Regions from separate parts of the Homo sapiens genome. Here region 2 is linked to region 1. Evidence: promoter capture Hi-C in 16 types of primary human blood cells and fetal thymus (Javierre and others, 2016). All regions are on one chromosome and are shown on one strand. The core of a region is centred on a gene start or on the middle of the fragment in contact, and the rest is flanking DNA. Distances in the headings are between cores, read along the strand shown. Region 1 holds the start of GMNN (geminin DNA replication inhibitor). Region 2 overlaps GPLD1 (glycosylphosphatidylinositol specific phospholipase D1).

Evidence for each region. The method cuts DNA at HindIII sites, captures the fragments that hold promoters and counts their contacts. A CHiCAGO score of 5 or more calls a contact.
Region 2: a contact is called between a fragment that was not itself captured here and the fragment with the promoter of GMNN in region 1, in 4 of 17 cell types (M2 macrophages, fetal thymus, total B cells and 1 more). The highest score is 5.5, in M2 macrophages.

Annotation. Positions count from the first base shown.
Region 1 is chr6:24,773,497-24,776,196 of GRCh38, forward strand. It overlaps GMNN (geminin DNA replication inhibitor), which reads left to right and starts at 1,441. Exons shown (of 7, transcript NM_015895.5): 1 at 1,441-1,748. RefSeq lists an enhancer at 2,356-2,435. The HindIII fragment of the contact is 2,242 bases long and covers 362-2,603 here.
Region 2 is chr6:24,443,355-24,446,054 of GRCh38, forward strand. It overlaps GPLD1 (glycosylphosphatidylinositol specific phospholipase D1), which reads right to left. Exons shown (of 25, transcript NM_001503.4): 19 at 2,372-2,477; 20 at 2,192-2,285. Among named protein-coding and RNA genes, the nearest start is that of MRS2, 42 kb to the left of the region's middle. The HindIII fragment of the contact is 620 bases long and covers 1,015-1,634 here.

The DNA.
Region 1 (2,700 bases), core at 191-2,690:
TGACAGTGCAAGACTCCGTCTCAAAAAAAAAAATTATTATTGAAAATCCCAAACAGATATAAAAGTAGAGGGAGTGAATAAAAAATCTTCATGTACTCATCCATACTAGCCTCAGCAGTTATCAACACAAGGCCAATACTGTTTTATTCGCACCAGTGGTTCTCAACTGGGGATGATTTTGCCCTGCGGAAGGTTATCTGACAAGGTCTGCAGACATTTTTGGTCTTCACAATTGGGATGTACTCCTGGTAGCTAGAGGGTAGAGGCCAGGGATACTGCTAAACAGCATACAATGCCCAGGACAGCCCCCACCACGAACAATTTGCCCAGTCTAAAATGTCAATAGAGCCCATACTGAGAAAGCTTGATTTATACCTTTTCCCTTGCTTCTCTCAATAATTATTTCAAATAAAATATATGGTATAAAATTTCATCTGTAATTACCATTTATAGGTAGAAGCTATTACAATAAAACCCACAATATTGTCATTACAACTAATCTCTTTTTTTAACCCATTGCTCATCAGGTAACCTTAAACAACTCATATCTTACCATCCCAAAATATTCAGTCAGTGTTCAAATTTCCCTTGGGTATTTTTTTAAATACAGTGTTTAGTTCAGACGAGATCCATACATTGCATTTGGTAATATGTCCCTTATTTGTACTCGATAACGCCTTCCTTCTGCTTTTTATTTTTAAAATATTTTAAAATTAATTTTTTTTTGAGACAGGGTCTCCCTTTGTCTGTAGTCCCAGCTACTCGGGAGGCTGAGGCAGGAGAATCGCTTGAACCCGGGAGGCGGAGCTTGCAGTGAGCCGAGATCGCGCCACTGCACTCCAGCCTGGGTGACAGAGCGAGACTCCGTTTCAATTAAAAAAAAAAAAAAGAAGGAAAAGGCTAGACGTAATTATTACCAAGGTGTTTCTGCTCCTTCAAATTGCAACAGCAGTTGTAATTTCAGTGCCTAGAACAGTAGTAATTGGCACGTATAAGGCGCTCAATGAATAGCTGCAGGATTAACTGATAATCGGTTGTCTCCTGAACAATTCCTACCGCACCACACCATAGTCAAAACACAAAAAGCCAAAATATAAAAGCCCCTAATACAACTACGAGTCCGTGGAGCCAGGGCTTTACACAAATATATGTCGTGTACTACATATTAATATATATGCACATACAATATTTTGTTCTTCTGGTGCTAACGACTAATGGAGGCAAATCTTTCTCCCTTTCGTAAAGGGCTAAAACTTTGCATTTTAAGGAAGTTCCAAGAGCAGGGTCGGAGGGGAGGGTCAAAGGGCACAGGCCTCCCAGCCCGCAGAAAACCCCCACGGTCCTCAAGTACTCGCTACCGTTGACCGCGCAGGCGCAGGAAGGGGCGGGGCCGAGGGAAGAGGCGATTCGCGGGATCCAGAGGCCCCGCCCCTCGTCTGCGTCAGTTGGTCACGTGGTTGTTCGGAGCGGGCGAGCGGAGTTAGCAGGGCTTTACTGCAGAGCGCGCCGGGCACTCCAGCGACCGTGGGGATCAGCGTAGGTGAGCTGTGGCCTTTTGCGAGGTGCTGCAGCCATAGCTACGTGCGTTCGCTACGAGGATTGAGCGTCTCCACCCAGTAAGTGGGCAAGAGGCGGCAGGAAGTGGGTACGCAGGGGCGCAAGGCGCACAGCCTCTAGACGACTCGCTTTCCCTCCGGCCAACCTCTGAAGCCGCGTCCTACTTTGACAGCTGCAGGGCCGCGGCCTGGGTAAGGGCGAAGGGGTTGTTGAACGGTCGCGGGAGCCGGGGCGGGGTTGGGAGGTGAGTCGAGGGACTGCCCCATTGGCTGGGTCGGTTTTGGCGCGCTCTCACTTCCGCGCTTCCTATTGGCTGGCTGGCGCAGTTCCCGAGGCGCGCGCCGCGGTTGGTAGGCTCGGACGCGCGGGGCCACACTGCCCGCCCCCTAGCCTGGCGCTGGGCCTCCGGGACAAGTTGGCTGGGTCCGGGCTTGGGGACTGCAACGCGGGTAAGGGACTCAGCCTGGGCTTGCCAGCTGTGGGGATGAGGCGAAGCATCCATCCTCTTGGCAGTTAAGTGGCTGGTCCTGATCTGAGGGATCTGCAAATTTGGCTCATGGAAAGAGGTGGCTGAATTCTGCGTCTCCCATTAAACGGATACTGGCGTTGTTGATACGGGTTTCGCATGGACCCTGTCCTGTGCCAGGGTTTTTAATCTAGCTATTAAAGGAACTGGAGAATAACAAGTAAGGGTTGCAAGGTCGCTGACAGGCGTGGGAAACTTGTGAAGGATTAGAATGCTAAGTGGCTTTCAGCTTTTTTCACACTAAGGTACGTTTTACGTCGCAACCTAGGACACAGCTATCTAACCAAATGAGACGTGATGGAAGCAATGTTTCTCGTCTCTTCAATTCCATTCTGTTCAGTTGCATTTTTCTAAGCAGTGTTGCTCATGACTCACTAATTTCGAGATCACGGCCCGCGACCCGCAGTTTGAAGAACATTGCGTAGGGTCTGTTTACTGGGGCCCGAACACCATTTTCTTAACATGAAATAGAGTAGAAAATAGCAGGATGCCCGCACAAATTAGATTGTTTTGTTTTCTAAGCTTTTTTTTTTTTTGAGACGGAGTCTCGCTCTGTTGCCCAGGCTGGAGTGCAGTGGCAGGATCTCGGCTCACTGCCACCTCCACCTGTCGGGTTC
Region 2 (2,700 bases), core at 75-2,574, 330 kb before region 1:
TCACAGGTTCATATTATTATTAACAGGCTTCAGATGTGCCTAATCACAAGAAACACGGCACTTGGGGCGTGACTGCCCTCAGCTTTCCTTCTGGGTGGCAAATGCAGTTTGTCAGTTTGCCAACATTCTGCATTTATGAGAAACAGTTTTGCTGCTTACTCAAATAGCCTCCAGTGGTATACTGAGTTATCACGACCCTCATTCTTTTGGCTTCCAACATGATTCCAAAGCTAAGTCAGCACTTTTTTTTTGTTATAATGCTGTGTCTTCGATTTAATGAAAAATTTAGCCATTCCTTTGCCTAATCCACTTGTTTTTTTGTTTTTTTGTTTTTGAGACTGAGTCTCACTCTGTCACCCAGGCTGGAGTGCAGTGGTGTCATCTTGGCTCAGTGCAACCTCTGCCTCCAGGGTTCAAGCAATTGTTGTGGTTCAGGCTCAGGAGTAGCTGGGATTACAGGAGCGTGCCACTATGCCTGGCTAATTTGTGTATTTTTAGTAGGTTTAGACAGGTTTCACCATGTTGGCCAGGCTGGTCTCTAACTCCTGACCTCAACTGATCCACCCACCTCTGCCTCCCAAAGTGCCAGGATTACAGGCGTGAGCCACTGCACCCCGCCTGTCTGACCCACTTCTGCTTATTATTCAAATCTTTCCCATATTGCAAGAAACAACAATCTTTCTGAAAAATAGTTTGATGATATATAACAAGAGCTTTTAGAAAGATTAGAACCTCTACTCCAGTAATTCCATCTCCAGGAATCTATCCAAAAAACTAATCAGAAAGGCAGTCAAAGACTAGGTACATGAGTGTTCAATAATTACTTATTCACAATAGTGTGAAACTGGAAACGAGCCTACAATTCCAGCAACAGGATGATGTTAGTAAATGCTGGCATTAAAAAAATGCAATGCAGATATCAAAAGTCATGTTTTAGAAGAATATTTACTAACATGAGAATGTGCTTAAGATATAAGTAAAAAAATTAGGCATGACAATATCATATATAGTATAAGCTTCAGTTTTTAAATATCTGGGTAAGGGGTGTTTTTTTTTTCCTTCTATATATTTCCTTGTATTTTCAGAAGTTTCCACAATAAGCATAATTCACCTTTATAATCTGGGAGGAAATGGTTCTTATTTATTTTTTTTTTTAAAGACTATCTTTCCCATAAAGTAAACAAAATAATGGTTTATATAAAGTATGTTTTCAGGGGTGGGTGCAGTGGATCATGCCTGTAATCCCAGCACTTTGGGAGACCAAGGTGGGAGGATTACTTGAGCCCAGGAGTTAGAGACCAGTCTGGCCAACATGTTGAGACCCTCTCGCTACAAAAAATAAAAAATTAGATAATGTGGTGGCTGACTGCCTGTAGTCGCAGCTACTCAGGAGGCTGAGGTGCAAGGTTCACTTTGCCCAGGAGGTCAAGGCTGCCATAAGCCATAATCACACCGCTGCACTCCAGCCTGGGCGACACAGCAAGACTGTCTCAAAAAAGAAAAATAAAAGATAGGTCCTCATAGTGGACCTATTCCTAGTGAACTGACTTATACAATTTTTCTCTGGCTCCAAGTTCCATGGGATAGGGGCTTTAAAAATACACTAAGTTACTTTCATATGTCATTTTCAACAAAGCTTTGAAACACAAATTTTATTTTATCTTATTTTATTTTATTTTTATTTTATTTTTGAGATGAAGTCTTGCTCTGTTGCCCAGGCTGGAGTGCAGTGGCATGATCTTGGCTTACTGCAACTTCTGCCTCCCAGATTCAAGCGATTCTCCTGCCTCAGCCTCCCGAGTAGCTGGGATTACAGGTATGCACCACCACACCTGGCTAATTTTTGTATTTTTAGTAGAGGCAAAGTTTCACCATGTTGCCAGGCTGGTCTCCAACTCCTGACCTCAAGTGATTCTCTCACCTTGGCCTCCCAAAGTGCTGGGATTACAGGTGTGAGCCACCGCACCCGGCCTGAAATAGGTATTTACAATTTCAGTTTTGTAGATGGTGATACAAAAGTTCTGAGAGGTTAAGTAACTTCCCCAAAGTTACACAGAATGTTATTAATGAAAAAAGGAAATATTGAAACCTAGATCTGTTCAGCTCCAGATCTCATCACTTTCCTCCAATACGACATGTACAAGCAGCCACATGACTGAAAGGAAGCACAGTTTCACAGTGTGTGACCTACCGTACGTAGGGGCTCCAACCAGCAGCACTTGTTTCAGAGTCCCATTCATCAGTACGTGGCCACTGGAAAGGGAAGTACCCAGTTTCCCCATTGCCTGTGAGACACAATAAATCAATATTGTATAGGTGAGAAAACTTCCTTGGAGTGTCCACTCTCCTGTGTGGGGAGGGCTTGTCATACCTTGTCTCCAGAAATGGTAAACCAGCTTTGGCCGTTTGGTGGGAAGTAGCCATACACCCTCCCAAGGCTCTTTTTCTCATCTCGGATGTGTAACAAATGGCCCAGCCTAGAATGAAGCACACTGGGCTTAGCTGCCAGGGCACAAGACTGACAGCTGGCCAGGTACTCAGGAGCAAGGAAAGGAAATGCACCTCCCCCCATCCAGGCCTCCCAGCAGGCTCTGTCTCTGCGACCCCAGGCCTGGAAGTGTGGGGACTATTGGAGTTAATCGCAACATCCAGGCTCTCCAGGTGCCACACCCACCATCCTGCCTCCCAACTGACAGGCCT